Linked DNA regions of Homo sapiens: regions 2 and 3 are each linked to region 1. Evidence: promoter capture Hi-C in human tissues and cell types (Jung and others, 2019). All regions are on one chromosome and are shown on one strand. The core of a region is centred on a gene start or on the middle of the fragment in contact, and the rest is flanking DNA. Distances in the headings are between cores, read along the strand shown.

What was found. Contacts are between HindIII fragments. The study calls those that stand out against the background at their distance.
Region 2: a contact is called between a fragment that was not itself captured here and the fragment with the promoter of RNF152 in region 1, in 2 of the 25 tissues and cell types used here (hippocampus and thymus).
Region 3: a fragment that was not itself captured here is called in contact with the fragment with the promoter of RNF152 in region 1 in 1 of the 25 tissues and cell types used here (hippocampus).

What each region holds. Positions count from the first base shown.
Region 1 is chr18:61,890,732-61,894,797 of GRCh38, reverse strand. It overlaps RNF152 (ring finger protein 152), which reads left to right and starts at 1,791. Exons shown (of 2, transcript NM_173557.3): 1 at 1,791-2,003. It overlaps LOC105372159 (a long non-coding RNA gene), which reads right to left and starts at 245. Exons shown (of 3, transcript XR_935562.3): 1 at 78-245. RefSeq lists silencers at 236-385, 456-605. The HindIII fragment of the contact is 14,100 bases long and covers 1-4,066 here.
Region 2 is chr18:61,491,467-61,495,532 of GRCh38, reverse strand. All of the region lies in intron 2 of CDH20 (cadherin 20), which reads right to left. Among named protein-coding and RNA genes, the nearest start is that of CDH20, 160 kb to the right of the region's middle. The HindIII fragment of the contact is 7,772 bases long and covers 1-4,066 here.
Region 3 is chr18:62,174,555-62,178,620 of GRCh38, reverse strand. All of the region lies in intron 1 of PIGN (phosphatidylinositol glycan anchor biosynthesis class N), which reads left to right. Among named protein-coding and RNA genes, the nearest start is that of PIGN, 10 kb to the left of the region's middle. The HindIII fragment of the contact is 4,111 bases long and covers 1-3,831 here.

The DNA.
Region 1 (4,066 bases), core at 542-3,041:
CCCAACCCACCCACCGCGGCCCCGGCCCCCTTCCCGGCCCTGCCCCTCCTCCCGGCTGCCCAGGCCTCCTTTCACACCTGCCGCCAGCTCAGGTCCCGCTTTTGCACGGTAGAGAGACGGCGTCGAGGTCCTGGCCGAGGGTAGGCACTGGGGGCAAAGCCGAGGGAGCGCGCGAGAGAGGGTAGGCAGCCCCTCACCCCGGGGGAGGTGGGCGATTCGGGACTGACGGAGAGAAGTCCCGGGCCCGCCGGGCTGTGGGCGGGGAGGAGGGGGTGGAGCCGCCGGGGAGGGCGGTGCCGCGGGGAGCGGAGCCCAGCCTCTCCCCCCACCCCCTTTGGTGCCGGAGTCTCAGTGACACAAAAAGCTCTCGCTCGGTGCCGAGCGCCTGGCGGCGGTGTCCGACCGCGAACGCGGAGGGCGGCCGGGCAGGTGGGGGTGCCGCCCGAAGGGCCGGGCCGGGTGCTGGGGCTGCAGGCGCCGCCGCCGCGCTGTCAGCGTCCGCCCCGTGGCTCTCGGCCGGAGGAGCGGCGGCCGCCGGCCCGGGGCGCGAGTCTGGCTGAAAGGAGCGGGCGCGCCGGGACCACCCGGCGATGCTGTCGCCGCCGCCGCCGCCTCTGTAGCGAGCACCCGAGCCCGCCGCGGAGAAAGGTCAGTGAGTTTCGGTTTGTTTCTCTGCTCTGCCGGCTCCGGATCGGGGGCGGACAGAGGGGTGCGCAGGGATGTCTGCGCCCCTACGGCGGCCGCGCCGAAGCCGTGGAAGCGGGAAAGGGCAGCTGCCGCCTGCTGTAACTGGGGAGATCTTCTGGACCGCGGAGGGGGTGGCGGGGCCGCAGGGTCCCGGGGAGGGGAGCGCGGGGTCTGGCGGGGCACGGGGGAGGTGGTCCCGGGAGTTGCGTGTCTCCTGAGAGCTGGCGGAGTTGGGCGGGCGGCCGCGGCGGGGAGCGGCGCTGTCGGCTGCTCGGCCGAGTCCTCGGATGCCCCCTGGAGCTCCGGTCCGAGGGAGCTTTCCTCGTGCCCGCGCCGCGCGCGCCCCTGGGTGTGCACGTGCGCGCGCGCCCGCCCCAGTTGCGCCCCCGGCCCGCACACACCCCGGCTCATCTTCTCCCGGTCCCCTTGTCTCGCGCCTTCTCCAGCCCTAGAAGTTGCCCCAGGGCCCCTCCCGGGATTAGAGAGCGCTGTGAAGGGCCAGATGTTGGGGGTCTTTTGTGCAGACACACGCGCCTGGGGCGCTTGCTCCTGGAAGGACAGCGGCAGGACAAAGCCAGCTGGACTCGTGGGGCGCTGCTCGGGAAGCGGCGGTCCCCAATCCCGCCTGGGGTCGGGGCATGGCTTGGGGAGCGCTGCCTGGGTCTGGAGAGAGTAGAGAAATCGCCAAAGCAGAGTGACGGTGACTTGATGAGGTGACGGTGACTTGATGAGGTGGCGGTGACTTGATGAGGTGGCGGACAGGGGCAAACGAAAGAAAGATGCTCGGGATTGCCGCGCTGTGTGCCTGTCTGCGCGGCTGACTAGGCGCCCCGCATTCCCATATGACCGGGTTACCTGGTAGATTTTGCCAGTGTGTCTTTGCCCCAAGATGTTATTCCCCACCTGCTCCGATTTCTTTCTTTCCTAGGGCTTACTGTTGCTAGTAGGCGCTCTGCCACCAGAGGGGAACTCGTGGGCGGGGGAGACTGCGGAGGAGGGGGGAGGTGGTTATTTATCCTGTAGAGACAATTAGGAGCCGTGACGCCCCCTTCTCGGCCGCCAGCCCTCCACACCTCATCTGCCTTGCTCCACCTCCCTAGTGCACCCGCTCCAGCCCCGTCTGCCCAGGAGGGCGCTTGGATTTCCTTCTCCGCGGCGCGTATCTAACCCTTCCTGCATGTATTTCACTGCAGGCTGAAGAAAGCTCAGTCTCAATTGTGTTTCCTGCCTGTCAGCCTCTTGCCTCCTAAACGTGTACCATTTCCACTTGATGTCATCACGCAGAAGGGGTGAAAGAGACTCGGTGACAGATACAGGTAACCCCCCACGATCTGGGTAGCGCCTGGGTGTCTCTGGGTCATTTGGGCCGACAGTGCTGGCACAGGGCTGTTTGGGTGGTTTCTGCATCAACATCGTTCCTATCTGTGAGAAGGTGTGGGGGCTGCTAAAACTCCTGGTTCAAAGAAATAAATTGCAAATGACTTTATACCTTCCCTTTGAAGAAGCCATTGGAGGTAGGTGCAGGGTGAATTTGGGATTGTAGAAATCCCACCTGGTTTCCTTTCATGGGAATTTTGATATAATTCATACACAGGCAGTTGTATCTGAATGTTAGGTTTCCATAGATGCCTGCTTTCTTATCTGTAGTAATAGATTTAGGCTTCAGTCTAGAGGTGGGGTATCCTTTGTTGAAAAGGTATCATTGGAAGGCTGATTGTACTTTTGCCCAGTGCTCTAATTGAGCACCGGTCAAATGCAGTGACCTTCGTATGAAATACTGTCTTTCTTCTGTTCCTTCATTGTAATAGTGTTTGCAATATTAAGAGAGACATGCTAGCAGTGAGTACTGGGAGGTGGAAGGGAGGGCTGTTGGGGGCAGCAGAAAGAGAACAGAGAAAACAGCTTGAGTGAAGTTTCCATTTAGATAGCCATGAACCAGTAGACTCTCATTCTGGATTTTATCTTTAGGTTATTGGGGCTTTTCCAAAAACTCTGGCCTGTTCTTTTCTTTCCAAGGATAGTTCTGTTTTGATGTCAGCCTAGCCAGATCTGGGGTTATCTTGATAAGAGTGCAATGAAAAAACGTAACCTTCAGACTTAGCAGGACACTCCGGCATTAGCATTTTCTGCTAGAGGGCAGAGTCCTGCGCATCCTACACTAGTAGCAGGGAATAAGAATGGTTATGGAAATGGGCTTTCGATTTTTCTTGTAGGAAGACAGATTGCTGAGGGCCAAAGGCTCCTGGTCTACTCTCTTTTACATTGCAGTAACACCTTGGTATCTGTGACAGATTCTCTCTTCACCATTTTCCTCCAAATCCCTTGAAAAATGAAGTTAAAAACTTGAAAGATTTATTATTCACCTCCAATGTAGTTTTGTTTTGGAAGGTGACTTTAAAAACATAGGTGACACTAGCATTTATCCTTCTACTACAAGCATTCAGGAGTCACTAGTAAAAGCAGTTGAGTTATCTAGTCCCAGGTGAAACAAAGGCCAGTGCTTTGCAAAGATCAGATGAGTAATGTGGTGCTAAGATAGAGGTATTTTTGACAAGTAATTTTTATGTCAGCAATAGTACAGGGTGTGTACTGTGTTGCTGCAAGAAGAAAAAACATGTGATGGGATAATAGGGAATGTAATAATGCAATAGAAACAAGGGTGTGGTTTTTTTTTTAATAGAAAGAATAAACACTTCGCACACAAAATTCCACATGGCAAAACAGTAGCCTGCCCATGTAAATGCACGTCCAAGAACAAAGATAGCCACAGTGCAGTGTTAGGTTTCATTGTGGTTTTAAATTGTGTACAGTAATAAATCATAATAAAGTGTCCATTGATGCTTAATTTTTTTTATATAAGAAGGAGGCTCCCCACCCTCAGATGTGTTTAGCTTTAGGCTGGAGGATCCCTAGAGGCTATTAGGCTGATCTCTGCCTCCAATGCCTGCTTCCTTTCTACAATGCTCATTTATTCATTTAGCAGATGTTTATTGGCACCTGATAGATAATGGACTCTGTGATAGATAATGGACTCAAGGGGTTGGGGTTGGGTGTAGGGGGAGACACAAAATTGAACTCCCTATAGGAAGACCTGATTCTAATTAACTTCAATGGAAGCTCAAGAGAGGTAGGATTGGACTTCTGGGGAGAGAAAATATGGTCATCCAGCCTCAACTTTAATGCCTCTTTCATTGAGGAGCTCACTGCTTCATAAATGGCTGTTGCTGTTGTCAGAAGGTGGCATTTTCATTGTAGTCTTTTTAGCTGAATTCCATACAGTTCGGTCCTTACATTGTTGAGGGTCATTCTGTTTTCATTTCTAATTCCCTCAGAGTTGTTTGAACCCACCTATGCTGTCAGCACCCTCTGCTTTTCAAGG
Region 2 (4,066 bases), core at 467-2,966, 400 kb after region 1:
CTCCCTCCTCCTGCCTCCTGGGCTCCCTCTAGTACCTTCTACCGGCAGGCAGAACCTACCTGGGAGAGGAGATGGTTGGAAGAGGAGAAATTACGGCTTGGAGAGTTTCAGCCCCAGCACCCAAAGCAGAGTATGGAAAGGTGAGCATGGGGCTGAGAGACACCAGCTTAATAACCCGTGCAGCAATGCACATTTAATATTCCGCTTTACCAGCCGTAGAATACACATTTGGTTTCAAAAATGGCAAAGAACAGACATTAACAGCTTTTCTCCAAGTCACTCAGCAAATTGGCGGTGTAATAAAAATGTGTTTTATATTTGCCCATATTTAATTCAACTAACACTGACTGCGCACCAGCTATTTGGAGGAAGGTAAGAAGCTTCCGAGCAGAGTCAGCAGCACAGTTACGTACATCTTGGGAAAATGTTTTTTTTCCTTCCTAAAAAAATATTTTAGGCAGAATAAGACAAGTGAATGTCTCACTTATCCTAATCATTCTTTAGTTTTTAAGATCTTCAGCCAAGGGAGTAGTGAGTGATGGGAAGTACAAGCAGGTCCTGAAGAATCTTAGCTGATTGAGGATTTCAAAAACAAGAATGATGTTCACTCCTTTTGTCATCTTTCAGAGTACCTTGAGTAATTTCGAGTATGCAGTGAGTGCTTACAGTTTGTGGTTAGGCAGCTTCCATGTAGTTGTTAACCTCGGCATGATTTGGACCCACAGATTCGTGCACAAGCTCTCAGCATCCCTCTCTTTGCATATGTCAATATAATCTAGCTTTAACTTGACACTGCCTTGTCCCTGGAAAGCCCAGTGTGGATTTTGTAAGGCCATACCAATTACAGCTGATAATTGCTGCCATACTCCTTTCTGAAATAAGCAAATACTCTGGCAAGCTCTCTAAACAGACATCTTCCGGAGCTCAAGGTCGCAAGCAGAATGCCCCTGGGTAAAGAGAATGAAAGTGGATGAATTCCCTTTCAAAAGAAAGTAAAAGGGAAAAGTGAATATATAATTATCTTCTTCATGTAGAGGTAACACACCTAATGCAGGCTAAAAATCTTCGCTTGGTTGCTGGTATGAGGATTGGATCAGATGACTGTTGAGATGCATGGGTGTCTTGTATCTTGGTTGGGGTTATTTGGAAAGGGCGAGCACTAATTGTGAGTATGCAAGGGTGCTACACAGCTAAGAACTACCCAGCATGAGAGATCAAGGGTTCAGGAAGCAGCCTGGCTCAGATTCCTGATCCCACCTAAACACCACTGACTCCTGTGTGTGTCCTCTGGGCTTAGTCTAAAGCCACTGACCACAGACAAGGCAATGTAAATGAAAGCTGGGGCTTTGGGGTAGGAGTGATGTGTATTTCAGTCTGGGCTTCCCTGCTACCTTCGGTCTAACTTTGGGCAATGAACATAAATAACCTCTCTGAGTCTAGCTCCCTGTGTTATACTCACCTCACAGCATTGTTATGATGATTAAATGATCTGCTTTGATGTGATTGTGACCGACACATAGTACTGTGGTAGTCCAATAAAACGTGAGCTACCCTTCTGCACTCTTTGTGTGTGGCCAGTTCTGTGCCAAGTACTCAGCGTCAGGGAGGTGTAGACAAAGTTGGTGAGTGGCGTCTCAATTTCTACCCTTGGGAGGAGGGAAGAGAGCCCTAAATTTTATGTGCACATAAGTAATTACTGAAAATTGCTGAATACAAACATACTCTTTTCTTGAACTTGGCAGTGGCCATGTATGTCTATTTGGAAGAAATGTTATATAGATATGGAGAAGCTAGAAGTCTTTGGAATTCTGAGTAGATACAAGATATGTTCATGATAGAATTGTCTGATTTTAAGCTAAAACTTTGAGGAATTTGAATGTGGCCTGATGAGCGGAAGTCAGGGCCTGTCCTGGGCAGGGCAGCAGCGTGGGCACACATGTGGGGTCAGGGACAAACGTGGTATGTGTGGCAGAACCAGTTAAGGAGGTCCAGCTTGATTGGGATGAGGACCTGATTTGAGAAATTGTGCACGAGGGCTGAGTGAGGGAGGAGGAAGTCCCTGAACTGCATGCTAGGAGCTCTGATAGCATTCAAAAGCACTGTAGTGCTTTCTTAATCAGAGGAGCAACATGATGGAAAGGGTGCTTCAGGGAGAGGAATGCGCTGAGCATCCTGGAGGAGGGATGGGAAGAGTCTTTTCACAGGGAGACAGGCAGCACCGGCATAGTTAATCTAATCAGGAAGAGCAAAGGATCATGGTCATGACCGAGCCTAGAGAGGAGGAGATGCATCCGAGAGAAACTGGCACAGAAATATTGGCAGATATGGGGACCGATTGCACGTGAAGGTAAAAGGAGATAAGGAAAGGAGAAGTCAATGAAAAGTCACAGGTTTTGAGGCCAAGGGATTTGCAGCTGCATTAGGTATTACTGAGCGTTGAGTTCCCATAATGAACTCCTTAAATGCTGTTACTATTACCACTATTAATACTATTGCTACTATAGTACTATTTACTACTACAGGTTAAGGATAATTAAAGTTTTACTCTGGATTAAGTACTGTGCAAAGTGCTTTACATGCATTAGCTTATTTAATCCTTACTCCACAGTGAGACATTCATTTATTAAATGTCATCTTGAGCACCTTCTATAAGATAAATGCTGTGTTAGGCCTTGGGGATAAAATGGGAGCAATGTTCTTGCTTTCATTGAGCTTCTAGTTTTAGTCAGAGGCTTCAGACAATAAACATGTAAATAAGAAACAAATATGGTGGTTGTGATTAGGGCTGTGAAAGAGAGTCTAACAGAGGGGCTTGCCTTAGAGAGTGGCCAAGGAAGTCATGAGAGAAGCCAGGGGAAGGGCATTTCATTATGGGGGAGCAGTAAAGGCAGTGCTTGACAGGTTGTAGGAACTGTCAAAGGTCATACCGCTGCAACGCGAGAATGAGGGAGAGAGTAGCATGGGCCATGGGTGGATGCCAGGAGGCAGGCTGATCCAGAAAGGGATGGTCTTGTTAGCTGTGGGGAGGTGTCTGGAGGATTCAATGCACAGTGGGAAAACATTGAAGAGACGTAAGTAGAGGAGTGACATGATGTGACTTAAATTTTAAAAAGACCATGGTGGAGAACAGATGGGAGGGAGGTGCAGGTGGACATGAGGAGACTGGTTGGGAGGCTAGGTACTTGCCCAGGTGACAGATGATGGTGGAAGCAGGGATAAGAGAAATGCAGGATTTGGGGTTGATTCTGGCATAGGACTAGCAGAATTTGCAGAGGGAGAGAATGTGTGGGCAGGGGAAAGGGAGGAATGATCCCCAGTTCTCTGGTTTTAGGAAATAATGGGTGGGTGTTGGGGCAGACTACGTTTAGGAGAAAAAAAACAAGAGTTTCTTACTGGACACACTACATTGGAAAGGCCTATGAGTAGATGTGGAGATGTCACATGTGCAGTAGAATTTATAACCCAAAGTGGTCTAAGCCAGAGATAGAGGTTTTGCATTCATTGGCATAGACATGGCATTCAAAACTGCAGAGGTGGCGAGTCCACCCAGGGAATGAGTGTGTGGAGAAGAGGCTAGGGCAAAGCTGACAAGCCCACCAACAAATGGGGTCAGGTGGAAGGAGAGGACCCACAAACGCGGCTGAGAAAAAAGAAGGAAAAACGGGATTGTGAAGGTCATGGCACAGATAGGACAATGAGTCAAGGAGAGACAGGTCAGCAGTGTCTGAGGTTGTGACTGGGAGGTGTGATTGGGCAGTAGAGAGGTCTTGAGAAGCAATGAAAACACAGCTTTGGGTCAGAGGTAGGGACCAAAGCCAGATACCTGGGTTAAGAAGTGAGTGGACACTGGGGAAAGAACTTGGGTAGACAACACTTGAGAAGGAGCAGTTCTCTCAATCTCATTCGAATTTGAGGAAGCCGAGATGAGCAGGGCTTGGTGACCTGTCCAAAGTTCCTCTAGAAATAATTGGCAGGGCTGGGCTTTGAACCCACCTGTGTTTGAATCTGAAACCCATGCTCCCAGCCTCTGTGCTAAACAAGCGTTTAAGTTACCATTTGAATGAAT
Region 3 (4,066 bases), core at 527-3,026, 280 kb before region 1:
CTTCTTCTTTTTTTTTTTTTAAGTGGGTCTTGCTATGTTCCCAGGCTAGCCTTGAATTCCTAGGCTCAAGCAATCCTCTCGCCTCACCCTCCTAAGTAGCTGGGACTACCAGCTCTGTCTTACAGTTTTGGCTGGTTTTACTTCACATCGTAGGTTTGTGTATTTTTAGTAAATGTTGAAGTGGTTAAGAACACAATCTCTAGGTGACATTACCGAAAATGGCAGAGTACGGTGGTTTATTATAAGGGTTAGTTCCTCCACTGAAACAAGCATAAGGGGGCAGAGTGACAGGATCAACTGTTTTGGGATTCTAAAATCTGGTCTGACATTTACAGCAACCAGGAGACTGCATAATGAAGAAGAGGGCAGCTGAATTTCAGAGTGCTGTGGCATTTAATCCACTGGATTACCATCCTCATTCACCATTGTGGCAATGGCAGCAGCTGTGGGGACTATGGCCCACATTTCTGGTGTGACTTGCTTGTATTTAGTATGGACTTTGTTCTTAAAATACTGTGGTTGTGCATTTTGATCTGTCTAGTGGTTTCCTGAGTGACCAATGTAGAGGCTGAATTTTGTCCCATCTTTATCCCCCGCAAAAATTACATGTAATGCATTCCCAGAAAGATCCTGAGAGGTGCCTACGCTTCTACCTTTGGAAGATCTGTGAGCACTAGACAAGCAGAAGGTGAAGGCTAAGGCAGAAGTGTAGGTGGCCAAGCTTAGTGTGAGAGTACTTCAGCTGAGAGCCAGACTACAAAAACTTGGGAGAGTACTATTTGTTTTTGTTTTAGGCATTTAAGGAAATCTAAATCTGCCATTGGCTGATCAGTAAGATAACAAAACAGAGACTTTAATGACCATAAACAAAAGGAATAAAGTCTTTGCAAAAATAGTTTGGAAAAGTTACTAAACAAAAGGCTGAACCCTTCAAAAATCAAAAGAAAATGCCAGAATTCTGGAATCTGATTTCTAGAATTACTGCATTATAATATTCGAAATATAAATTTCAACAGAAAGTTACAAAAAAGCATATAAAGACTCAGGAAAGGATGGCATATTCACAGAAAAAAATAAACAAATTGGTGGAAGCCACCCTTGAGGAAGTCCTGACATTGGACTTAGTAGACAAAGACGTTAATCATCTGTCTTAAATATGTCAAAATGCTATGGGAAACCATAGACAAAGAACTAAAGGAAGTCAGGAAAGTGATGTATGAACGAGATAAGAGCATCAAAAGAGATATAAATTATTAGAATGAACCAAATAGAAATACTGGAGCTTAGCAGTACAATAATTGAAACAAACTGTTCACAAGAGGGATTCAGCAGCAAATTTGAACAGGTGGAAGAAAGAGTCAATGAACCTGAAAATGGGGCAATTGCAATTATAGAAGCAGAAAGAAAAAGAAATGAAGAAAAGTGAACAAAACCATAGGGACCTATGGGACACCATCTTTAATTCATAAGCTTTTTAATATGGTTTATGCCAATGTGAACATTAAATCACTGATAGTCTGTAAGTTTAGCAAATCATGTTTGACAAGAACAAAGGTTACCTGAAATCAGAGCTATCCATAAAACTTGCGGTGGTTTATAATTACAACAGTGTATCTTTTGAGTATAGATTCAGACTCCAATTTTTTTTTTTTTACTTTTTATTTAAAAATAATGTTTAGATCTGTGGAAAAGTTGCAAAAACAGTACAGAGTTCCAGTACACCCTTTACTCAACTTCACCTAATGTAAACATCTTATGTAAACATCATATAATTATCAAAACCAGTACATTAGTATTTGTATAATACTATTAACTACAGATCTTAGTTGAAGTTAACTAGTTTTTCCACTATTTTCTCATCCGGTTTCCCTTGTTGTGTTTAGGTAAGTCTCTTTAACCTCCTCCATTCTTTTACAGAGTACTTGTCCATTATTTTGTAGGCTGTCTCAATTTGGGTCTATCTGATATATTACCATTATTAGATTGAGATTATACATTTTTAACAAGAATACCACATGTTCTTTTGCCAAGACTACCATGTTTTGCCTTTCTCGGTGCATCTGGTCAGGGTTACATGATGTTAGTATGTCTTACTATTGGTTGTGTTAACCATGACCACTTGGTTAAATGGTGTCTGACTATTTTCTCCATTGTTAGTATTTTTCCCTTTGTAAGGAATAAATATTTGGAGACGTTTCTTTAAGACTGCAAATATCCTGTTTCCCTGAAACTTTGATCCATTGATTTTAGCATTTATCAATGGATCTTGGTGGCAATAATTACTGTGATGTTTGCCTAGTTGTAATTTTATATCTCCCTCATTCCTGCTACCTGAATTAATTGAAATTATTCTGTAAAAAAGAGATATGGGATTCTAAACTCATTAATATCTCATTGTATTCTGGTAGAGATAAGGATAATAAGTCATTACTTGTTAAAGCAATTCTCTCTAACATAATGTTAGAGAAAATTATCAATTATATTCTCACTTGATTTTCCTTTCTGGAATTTTAGATACTCTTTTATAGCCTAGTTATATATCTCATTAAATAAGTTATTTAAAAATAAAAATTGCCTGAAACTTCTTGTTCATTTCTTACCTTTTCTTTATCTGAAATTTGAGACAATAGAGCCTGTACTTCCTAATTGAAAGATTAATTAGCTAATGATGGTTCCTAAGATACCTAGGGGGAATTTTAGAAGCTTTCAAGGACTTTTTATTAGCTCTCTTCCTGCCATATTCCCCAAAATAAGTAAAATTTCTCTTTGACTTGATGCTACATTAACTGTACTTTTTAGTGAACTGGGGGAAAATAAATAAAGTTCAAATATATACTCATTCCACCAATGAATCATAAAGTGACTGCACTATGCCGTTAGGTGGTGAGCATGAGTGAACAGAAACACAGTCATTGCCTTCATTCTAGCTTATATTCTAGTCTGAGGATACATATTAGAAACATGCATTTGGCCGGGTGTGGTGGCTTACACCTGTAATCCCAGCACTTTGGGAGCCCAAGGTGGGATGCCATAATGAGGTGAGAGAGGTATGCAGGGCCACGGAGGTAGTGGAAGAACACAGGATATTACTCTTGGAACAATGGAAAGCTACTCACAGACTTTAAGAAGGGAAAAGATGTAATCTAATTTACATTGAAAGGGAAGAAAATGGAAATTTTATGGGGAATGGGTTAAAGAGTTTTAACCTTTAATCTGAGTTTTGGGGTCAGTACCTGTGTATAAAATTCCTGAAGAACAATTAGAATGAAGTATAGTGAACAAGTGAAATGTTCTACAATTTGTAGAGTAAAATATGTAATTACTTTAGATGAAGGGAGAAACTTACATTGTGTAGTTTTCTGCAGTTTGGTAGGGAAACCATTTGGAAGTTGTTGAAGAGGTCCAGGTGAAAAATAATGGACTTAGGTGATGGCAGTGAATGTGGAGAAGTGAAAACACGAGTTCCTTTGAAAACAAAACTCAACTGGACACTGAGTTTTATATATATAATGACATAAACATTATATATATTAGATATATTAAATATATATATTTATTATATATAAAAATATATATTTATAATATATATCTAATATATATAATGTTTATGTCATTCATGTTTAGTAGTGAACACTGTGAGTCTGTAATCAAGAAATTTTATTAATTTGATTAGGGGAGTTGTTTTCAGATCCTCTTAAAAGCTTTTTTGAGGGGGAGGGGATTGAATTGCATGACAGTTTAAAAATGGTCTCATTGTCTCATAGCCATGATTTTTATAGGAACTAAGTAATTGTATAGGACATTCATTTTTCTGTTCAGCTAGTTGCTATGTATGTTTTTAAAAATATTGTGCTTACCTAAACCACTTTTAAAAATAATGCATTAGCATTAATTTAACCGATTTAATTAATTAATAATATTGGGAATTTAATAGGATCAGAGAAAATATGAATAATATAAGCTTCTATTGGATAATGCAATGGTTAAAAGTAAATGTGTCTATGATGGTAGTTAAGTCTTTATAATTGTTTACTCATTCATCTCGCCTAATTAGATTTTTACTGCT